2 separate regions of the Homo sapiens genome follow, and region 2 is linked to region 1. Evidence: promoter capture Hi-C in 16 types of primary human blood cells and fetal thymus (Javierre and others, 2016). All regions are on one chromosome and are shown on one strand. Each heading gives the region's core, a stretch centred on a gene start or on the middle of the fragment in contact. The rest is flanking DNA. Distances are from core to core; before and after follow the strand shown.

Region 1 (5,094 bases), core at 2,549-5,048:
ACATCATATTTGTATGCTGATGGAATTGAGGTGGTAAAGAGTGAAAAACTGATCATGTAACAGGGACCAGGGAAAGCATGTGCCCTTGATGCCTTTGAAATGGTAATAGGGATAGGATCCAGTGCACAAACGAAGTATAATGATTTACATAGGACCCTAGATAATTCATCCATGGAAAACACGAAGAAAGAGTATGTTGGCAAAGATGCTAGTAGATAGTTCGATGTAGTAGTGAGATTCCGTGGAAGTTTTTTCCTGATGCATCAGTATTCTCAATAAATATTCTCAAGATAATTGGTGGAGGACAGGATGATGGGAGTTGAGAAAAAAGAAAGTATAGCATAGCTTTCAAGGAGACCAGAAGAATGCATGGGCTAAAGGTGCATAGTATGCTTGTCCAGTGGCATAAAGGACCCACTTGAGAGTCTTGGCCTTGATTTTAAATTGAGTTCAATTAACAGGATTTTGGTTTTCCACCCCGTTCCCCAGCTACACTCAGGTGCATGGGTGTGGAGCCAACTTAGAAAATTGGATTTAATCAGAATTGCAAACTTGCCAAGAGAGCTCAACAAAGTGAGAGAGGAGCAAGGGAATGTAGAGCATATGCAAAGGAGTGAATAAAATAATTGACCACAGACTTAATGGATAAGCAGAAAAGTCAGGATGTCAAGAGGGTGGAGCCAGAAAAGAGGCAGCAAGATTTTGGATTGGATATCTGGTGAAGGGACAGGATTGTTGGGGTCAGAGTACTAGAGGGAATGTGCTAGAAAGACAGGAGGTATGATCAGAGAGTGGATTCATGAAAGAAATTATAGATGGGATGCAGCTATTGATAATGACAAATTCTAGGGGACGCTCATGGGAGTAAGTGTCTGAAATGGAGCATTGGGTGGAGTACAATGTCACCAGAGAAGAGGAGTCAAGGAAATGAGAGGCCAGGGCATTGGAAAGATCACCATCTATTCTACATATATATATATATATATGTGTGTGTGTGTGTGTGTGTGTGTGTATGTTTTAATTTTGTTTCATCAACTTTTATTTTAAGTTCTAGGGTACATGTGCAGGATGTGCAGTTTGTTACATAGGTAAATATGTGCCATTGTGGTTTGCTGCACAGATGATCCCACCACCTAGGTATTAAGCCCAGCATCTATTAGCTATTGCTTCTGATTCACTGCCTCCCCCTACCCCCTCCCCTGACAGGCCCCAGTATGCATTGTTCCCCACCAAGTGTCCATGTGTTCTCATGGTTCAGCTCCCACTTATAAGTGAGAACATGCAGTATTTGATTTTCTGTTCCTGTGTTAGTTTGCTGAGGATAATGGCCTCCAGCTCTATCCCTATCCCTGCAAAGGACATGATCTCATTCCTTTTTATGGCTGCATAGTATTCCATGGTGTATACATACCACGTTTTCTTTATCCAGTCTATCATTGATGGGCATTTGGCTTGATTCCATGTCTTTGCTATTGTGAATAGTTATTCTACATATATTTTAAATCACTGAGAACTAAGATAGGATTAGTACTGGAGAGAGCAACAATGAGCCAGGAGCTAGAGAGTCTAAAAACGAGGAGAAGGAATTGGAGTCGGGGAGATCAGCAGTTGATAGCAACCATGATGATACAACCTGATGATATAAAAATCAAAACTCAAGACAGTTTTAGGAATAGGAAGGCAACATGGTCTGAGAACGACTGCCAACACTGAAAATACAGGAAATTTCACATACTCTAGCTTTCACTTAGGATCCTTGCTTCTTGGTAAATTACAAGATCTGGTAAAGCAGGCCTTTCTGATTGCTTCCCTCATCTGCAGTGATTTCCTGTTTCCTCTGAGTGAGTTTGCCTCCCTGTAGTAGCAATTCAAAAGCTACCAAATAATTAATGGCCTTTTGCCTCTGTTGCTCAGCATGTTCAGGTAGTCCCTTTAAGAGATGTATAGAGGGCCGGGTGTGGTGGCTCATGCCTGTAATCCCAGAACCTTGGGAGGCCTAGGGAGGTGGATCACTTGAGCCCAGGAGTTTGAGACCAGATTGAGCAACATGGGAAAACCCCGTCTCTACAAAAACTACAAAGGTTAGCCAGGCATGGTGGCATGCACCTGTAGTCCCAGCTGTACTGGAGGCTGAGGTGGGAGGATGGCTTGAGCCCAGGGGGTGGAAGTTGCAGTGAGCCGAGATCGCACCATTGCACCCCAACCTGGGCAATCAGAGCGACTAAAAAAAACAAATAAGAAAGAAAGGAGGGAAGGAAGGAAGAAAGGAGGGAAGGAAGGAAGGAAGGAAGGAAGGTAGGTAGGTGTACAGTGTGTACAGATTGACAATAAAACCTTGAACAACGGGATATCGAAATTCTTGCCCACACAGTATGGGCTTTGCCAGTTTTCAGATACATTTTTATGAAGTATTTTCGCTGGCAAAACCATTCAGGTAGGGGCATGAAATGATAGTGTTTCATCACTCGTGATCTCTAGGGGCAGCTATTCCAAAGACTACAATCTGAGAGGTTTCAAAACACCTCTGGTGTTTTCACTTGATGGCCACTGCCCACTCTTCCAGTCACTAAGGCTGAGATTTTTCTCACCACTTTCAAAACAACTTTTTGTCACTGGTAACATGCCTCATGTGACCTAGAAGATTTTGAAACAACAATTTTACTTAAACTCCGTGAAGATTTCAAAACAACAATTTTACTTAAACTCCATGTTGAAGGCAAAAAGGAAGATTGTGTGAAGCACTTTGAGGAAGGAAAAAATGATGGAACGATATTTCATCAAGGAAGCCCATGAGGAAGAAAATTTATTAAAACCAAGTAGGTGTATGGAGGAGAGGCCGCCTCGTGAAGAAAACGAACATAATTTTACGCTGATTTGGTGTCTTTTCTGTTTTTCTCTTGTTGGTATCTACATTCATCTTTTCCAATAATAATCCCATATATGTACATTTTTATCTGTTTAAATTCAGTAAAAGTTGGGAGGAAAATGTGTCAAAACTTTTAGAGTGTGATGGGCTGAGTGGGGTTGTGAGTGATTATCTTCTTTTTTCAGTTTTTTTCTGGGTTTTCCAAGTGTTCCTCGATGAACATGGATAGTTTTTCTGACAGGATAAAAAAGAAGTAGTCCGGGACAGTGGCTAACACCCCGAATCCCAGCACTTTGGGAAGCCGGAGGTGGGAGGATCGCTTGAGGCCAGGAGTTTGAAACCAGCCTGGGCAGCATAACGACACTCCCTCTCTACGAAAAACGAAAAAAAATAATTAGCCGGACGTGGTGGCGTGCGACTGTGGTCCCAGCTACTCGGGAGGCTGAGGTGGGAGGATCGCTTGAGCCCAATAGGTGGAGGCTCCGTGAGCTGAGATAGCGCCACTGCGCTCCTGCCTGGGCGACAGAGTGAGAACCTGACTCAAAACAAAGAAAAAAGGAAGAAAAGAAAGGAAGGGAAGAAGGAAGGAAGGGAGAAGCTTTCAAAAATAAACTTTTGTAAGAAGTAATGACACCGCTAGCCGTCCACACCAGGAGACCGCCTAGCCGTGGGGCACGGTGGGCTCCTGGGAGCTCTGAGCTCTGGGCTTTCTCCAGTTCGCACTCTGCTTGTCTCGGCAGCTCCGTCCCCACCGCAGAGGTGTGAAGGGGCGCAAAGCCAGCGAAGGGAGAACCCGGGTCGGGTAACCCCCAGGCCTGGCCAGGCGGACGCAGGGGCATCTCGGGCGAGGCGCGCCTTGCGTCACGTGGGCACCGCCCCTGCAGTGACCGGAGAACGGCGTGTTCCTAGGGCTCTGCTGCCGTCGTGGAAGCAGGATTTCCGCGGTTGTGTAACGGCCTGTCGCAGGCGTGCAGGGACCTGGACTCCGCCTCGTCCCCGGGGCTCGGGCAGCCGAGCCATGGCGGGGAACTGTGGGGCCCGCGGCGCGCTGTCGGCGCACACGCTGCTGTTCGACCTGCCGCCCGCGCTGCTCGGAGAGCTCTGCGCTGTTCTGGACAGCTGCGACGGCGCGCTGGGCTGGCGCGGCCTGGGTGAGTCGGCGGGGACCGGCCGGGGGCGGCGGGGGAGCCCAGCGCGCCGCGGGGCCCGCTCGGCGTCGCCCTGCATGGCTGGGGTCCCTCGCGGGGCTGGCGCGGCCTCCGGGAAGTTCCCGCCAGGGAGCCGGCCCCCTCCTTTCCTGGGTTGGATGCAGAGACTCCCTGGGACCCAGATGCCTTCCCTCCCTTCTCTTTCAAAGAATTTTGGGTATCGCTGCAAAGTCAAGGGAGCCGAGGCCTGGGAAAGACAGATAACCAGCGTGAAAGCATCTTCTGTTCGTCCGCGATGCCACCCTCACTGGGTTCGCAATGTATGATGTCTTCTGGTCCTTGCAAAATCACCCCAGAACATCATTTTAGTATTGAGACATTTTTAGAACTTTGAGATACTTATCCTTTGGTGTTTTCAATGCATCCCTAAGCCCCTAACTTAATTACAAGTGAAATGCTAAAGTAAACTACGGTTTGCAATGAACGCGGCTCCTAATTTTCTTAATTAAATCTTATTTACCCAATTTCGTTGAATGAAGGTTTATGCTAAAGGGTGGCTTTTTATTTTAATCTAAAAAAATTGGCTTCAGAACTGTATTTTATGCAGACATTGGAAAGTTGAGCAACTGCCTGCTGGAAGTGTTGAGTGTAGCCAGAGATAATTCGGACAAAAATCTTCGTTTTGTTAAGTACAGGCATTTTTGGTTAGATTTGATATTCCACAATGTCATGTTTAATGTTTATTGAAAAGAATCATGATTATGTCAAAATAACTTAGCTTTAATGGTCTGAAATAGGATTTTTCTTACCAGGACTAGCAGAAGGCCTAAGAGGAGAGTTTTCTTTGTTACTGATGAACAGTATGGTGACAGTCTTTGAATTGTAGCAATGGGCTTCTGGTTATACAAAAAATGTTTATATATTTTAAGCTCTGTAATTTTAAGTTATGGCCCTTAAGAAAAAAAAAAAAGTCTGATTTCTAGAAAACGAGATTTCCAGTGTGCATTTGAGGGATTTTGAGGGATAAGGTCACTTCCCCATCAGATCTTTTTGAGATGGATTTTGGCGTGGACAGTATTT
Region 2 (5,445 bases), core at 1,872-4,371, 200 kb after region 1:
GGGACTTCTGAGAAGGCTCCTTACATCTTTGCTACTGCTGTCTGGAATGCAAATGAAATTGCTGGAGCCCCAGTAACTGTCTTGGACTATGAGGTGACCCCAAGGATGAAAGTCAAGTGCTAAGCAAAACAGAGCCGAAATATTTAGAAGCATGGGCCTCTGATGACACTGTGGAGTTACATACCAGCTCGAAGTGCCTGTTTCTTTATAATGTAAGTCAATGTATTATTAGAGTTTTCAGTTCTCTTCAGCTGAACCTAATCTCATTGATTGGTAACCAGTTCAGTTATGGTTTGCTGTGTAGATCTGACTTGCGTCTTATTTAAATTTAAATGTCTAGACTTGGGTTGAGGGTAGGAAAATAATTATCCTGATTCTGGCTGCAGGACCAATCCAGCTTTTTCTAGCAAAAAAATAAAATGAAATGCTGATATTTTAATCCATAGCTGACTCTCATTTCTATTTCTCAATGGATTTGAAACCGATTAAGAGGTTAATTAACATATCAAAATACCTAGTGTTATCAAGATACCAAAATGCAAAGCTTGCTTAGAGAATTGTGAGATATTCCGGGTATGTGTACTAAAAGGTACTGCAAGGAAGTGTCAGCAGATGGACTGACAAAGTATTTGGGGACTAGATTACAAAGAACCCTGTGTTTTAAACTGAAGACCTTTGACTTTATCCTATAACAATAGATAACCATCAAAAGAGGGTTTTTTTGGTTTAAGGGAGTGGCATGACTAGATTTGGTTTTGCTAAAGATTATAGATAGAAATGTGGGAAAAGATGCTCAAAGTAAGAAGATAAGTGAGGAAGGAGTTACCATATTTCATCAGGCCTGAAACAAAGGCAGTGGCAATGGAGGGACATCAGAGATGCTAAGTGAGTAGAGGGAGTGAGATACCTGGGTCCTGATGACACCATGGGAAAAATAAATCCTGATGTTGCTTAAATGCCATCACTTAAATTTTGTTTCGTATGTAGAAGAAAATCTTCAAATCAGCTAAACTTGACCTTTAACTGATACAGCTGGCTGGTGATACCATGATTTAAAAGAGGGAATATCTGAGGAAAATTATGTTTAGGTAAAAGGCAAACCTGTTGCCATTACTGATAAAAAGTTAACAGGCTCTGAGGAATATTCCTTTACACCAGGAGTCAAGCTTAAAAGCCAGGGAATAAATGAGGCAGCCCAGGCGTAAGAAAAAATCAACTGCCAGATAGATAATGAAATTTTTTTTGTTGTTGAATGATGGTGTAAGCACATGAAATACACATATAATATTGGAAACTACATTTTAAATTAAAAATTGATAAAATAAATAAGTTGAAAAAAGAAATAATGTTTTTTAAATGTACTGGCCAGGCACGGTGGCTCAGGCAGGGCACGGTAGCTCATGCCTGCAATCCCAGCACTTTGGGAGGCTGAGGCGGGCAGATCACCTGAGGTTAGGAGTTCAAGACCAGCCTGGACAACATGGCGAAACACCATCTCTACTAAAAACATAAAAATTAGCTGGGCGTGGTGGTGGGCACCTGTAGTCCCAGCTACTTGGGAGGCTGAGATAGGAGAGTCACTTGAACCTGGGAGGCAGAGGTTGCAGTGAGCCAAGATCGCAACATTGTACTCCAGCCTGGGTGATAAAAGCAAAACTCGGTCTCAAAAAATAAAATAATAAAAAATAAATAAAATGTATGGTCCTAAGTCATTTCTCCTTTGGATTATTTATTTATTTATTTATTTATTTATTTAGACACAGAATCTCACTCTATCGCCCAGGCTGGAGTGCAGCAGCATGACCTTGGCTCACTGTAACCTCCACTTCCCAGGTTCAAGCAATTCTCCTGCCTCAGCTTCCTGAGTAGCTGGGATTACAGACACACACCACCACACCCAGCTAATTTTTGAATTTTTAGTAGAGACAGGGTTTCACCATGTTGGCCAGGCTGATTTCGAACTCCTGACTTCAAGTGATTGCCTGCCTTGGCCTCCCAAAGTGCTGGGATTACAGATGTGGGCCTGCATGCCTGGCCTCCTTTGGTTTAGAATTGGCAACTTTTTCTTCTTTCCTTCTTTATTTTACATCTGGGTTTCCATATCTGATCTTATACTTTGTATCCTAATAGGAGGTATAAAATTTAGTCCAGATTCCTTTCACTGATATTAATGTTTAGTTTTATTTATTTGCATAATGGAAAACAGGTCTTCATAAAAAATAGGTCTTTATTTGCACAAGTGGAAAACAGCAAAGTAGGTATTTCTGAAAGTAGATGGAATCTTGATAGGATGATTTTTATTTTTAGGGTAACTATGCCTTAGATATTTGTAAAATTCTAACATTCCAACCTTGTAATATTTGGTTTTCTGTACTAATACAGATTAATATTTGTAGCTTTTAATTCATACCCAGCATTAATTTAGAAAAGTGAACTAATCAGTGTGGGTTCATATTCATAAAGTTTAGAATTCAATTTTCGGCCGGGCGCTGTGGCTCACGCCTGTAATCCCAGCACTTTGGGAGGCCGAGGCAGGTGGATCGCGAGGTCAGGAAGATCAACACCATCCTGGCTAACACAGTGAAACCCCATCTCTACTAAAAATACAAAAAATTAGCTGGTCGTGGTGGTGGGCGCCTGTAGTCCCAGCTACTCGGGAGGCTGAGGCAGGAGAATGGCATGAACCCGGGAGGCGGAGCTTACAGTGAGCTGAGATCGCACCACTGCACTCCAGCCTGGGTGACAGAGCGAGCCTCCGTCTCAAAAAACAAAAAAAGAAAAAAAAATAGAATTCAATTTTCATCTCAACAATTTTGGGACTGTAGCTCTTGCCATTACTTTCATTCTTGGAAACCAATTTTAGTACAGGAAAGAGAGCCAGTTAATTCGCTGCCAAATTTGTTTTCTAAAGACCCAGTTTTGTGAAGGATGAGAAAATCAAATCATATGTTTGTGTAACTATTTGTAATTGATCTTGCCAAGAAATATTCAAAGTATTCAGATGAGGCTGTGATCTAAATGTCAATGCAAAGACAGTTCTCTCTTCTCTCAGAAATCACCTCAAGACAAAAAGTAATGATAAATAACAGAATGCAACCTCCATCTTAATCACAACTAGAGTGTTCATGTAATCTCAGACCATAATACATAAGAAAATACATAATACATAAATCCAGTGGAAGTCAAATGGGAAGGGGGTGGTGGTGGTAAGAAGTGGAGAGAAGACACCTATGGCCAGGACTACCAAACTACTCTTTGGTAGACAACTCAGTCTACCAAAGCAGGGGCGGTGGCATGAGGCAAAACTCCAATGCTTTGTTTGGAACACCAGTATGCACTGCATGGCTGGTGGCAGAAAGTACATGTGATCCCATCTGGCATCAAGGTAAAGTCAGGGAAAGAGAACACATGTCACAGACTGAAGGGAGCAATTGCTCAATGAGGCAGGATAGCAGAGAGGAATTCTGTTTTGTGAGCAGCCTGCTGTTGCTGCTCTCTGGTAGCTGGGGAAGAATTTACTCACACATACCATGCTGGAACTGGGGTGTGTTTGGTACCTTGGAAACAGAGCCTCTAGCAGCTTCCAGTTCAGGAAGAACTCATCTCATTCAGTGGTGAGCAGTAATTGAAAAGGAATTGGCATAACATGTATACCAAGTAAATATCAGACAAATGAGAGCAAAGGCATAGAAAAACAAAGCGATAGCAGATGAAGAATACTCATGAGAAAAAGCCTGGTTCAGAGCAAATGATAAACATGACCAATCAGAAATAATCACAAAATTTAAAAAATACACAGCAAAGCCATCACCTCTATAAAACAAGAGATCAAAGCAGAAATATAAGAACTCTAGAGAAATTGGGCAAGGCAAGATGATGATGAAACATGAGCTTGTAGAGATCAGAAGAGAAACGAAAGAGAAAAATAAAATCCTGCTAATGAGTAGAGGAGGATACCATTGGGTTTCTACTCTGTGCTATCCTCTGTATGATTTGTATTCTTTAATGACATTAAATAAAGTTGGACTCTGACTGCACATGTTGGTGTCCTTTCAGTTATCATCCTTATGAAAACACAAAGAAGGAATATATCCTTATAAAGCAATGAAAATAAATAAATCATGCATCCAACTTAAGTCATAAAAGGAATAAAATTTAAAAGGAACTGAATGAAAGAGTAAAATTAAAAGTAAAATTGTACGTAAAAAAAAAAACTAGAGTAAAACTAATAAATAAATGCAAGAGTCAGTTCTCTGGGAAAAAATAAAAACCAAACAAAGAAATCAAATAAACTGTTACTAATCGAATCATGGGGAAAATAATAAAACCACAAATATACCAATTAAGGAACAATATTATGGATATAATTATAGAAACTGAGAAAATAAAAAATTAAAAAAGAGATTAATTATATAAAATACATTTGACATCTGGATGAAATAATTTCATTTTCTGAGAGAAAACAAATGATCAAAATGACCTCAAAAGGGAGAAAAATAAGATAGAAATATAGCTATCTGAGTTGAGAGTCCAAAGTTACAGAGAGCACAAGAGCTATTCAGCCCGCGAGCATGGCAGTCTATGTACCACCACCAATTTGCCAGTCTCCTCTTGTATTGACCTTTGCTAAATCCAAGTAAAGCAGTCATAGGGTTTTCTCAGAGTTAGAAGGAAGAATTAATAAGATGCAAGGAGGCCAAATGCCTAAGATTTTGATAAGGCAGAAGGGCATGAGGCATCTAATGGGCAAGACAATGGGGAGTGAAAGAAGCTGACCTGGAGGCCAACTGGAAGAAGTCAGCCACACAGTGGAACTGAGAATCAGCCCCTTGTGGGACTTCCTTAAACATATCCCTTCTTTCCCCACAAGGTTTCGTCATTCCATTCTATTTCCCTTTTCACTAACGAAGTGATAGGGCCACTGTTTGTTTATTTGTTAACTGACTGTCCCTTCAGCTGGGTAACCTCTTCCATGGGAGCAGAGACCATGTCTCCTTTGTCCAAGAGTGTATCCACATGGTCTATGGGCCTGATATTGAGCCAGTCATTACATACTGGTTGAAGGAATGAATGGAGCAAGCTTGATATTTTAGAGAAGAAGGAGAGAACAGTAAGGAATGTTGCTGCAAAGACATCGATTTCCAGCCCCAGGAGGAAGATGTGCATTATGGAGTCTCCTGGGAACAAGGCAACTATTACAGCCTTAAAGGGAACAGAGAGAATGTGCAGGGGCTTCCTGGAACAAGGCAGAGAGCCTGCTGAGAGGCTGGAGGGACAGGTTGGAGAGATAAGCTGTATCTCACAACATAATATTGAATAGGAAAAATAAAAGTGTGGTTCTATGCCTTGCTTTTATTTTTGTTTTAATTTTTTTTGAGACGTAGTCTTGTTCTATTGCCCAGGCTGGAGTGCAGTGGCATGATCTTGGCTCACTGCAATCTCCGC

What was found. Contacts are between HindIII fragments. The CHiCAGO score rates a contact against its expected background, and 5 or more counts as called.
Region 2: a fragment that was not itself captured here is called in contact with the fragment with the promoter of IRAK3 in region 1 in 1 of 17 cell types (neutrophils); the score reaches 5.3 in neutrophils.

Annotation. Positions count from the first base shown.
Region 1 is chr12:66,185,416-66,190,509 of GRCh38, forward strand. It overlaps IRAK3 (interleukin 1 receptor associated kinase 3), which reads left to right and starts at 3,799. Exons shown (of 12, transcript NM_007199.3): 1 at 3,799-4,017. The coding sequence starts at 3,885. RefSeq lists silencers at 3,904-3,953, 3,974-4,133. The HindIII fragment of the contact is 2,960 bases long and covers 3,463-5,094 here.
Region 2 is chr12:66,383,872-66,389,316 of GRCh38, forward strand. The region is part of intron 19 of GRIP1 (glutamate receptor interacting protein 1); the gene reads right to left. Among named protein-coding and RNA genes, the nearest start is that of HELB, 84 kb to the left of the region's middle. The HindIII fragment of the contact is 3,914 bases long and covers 1,165-5,078 here.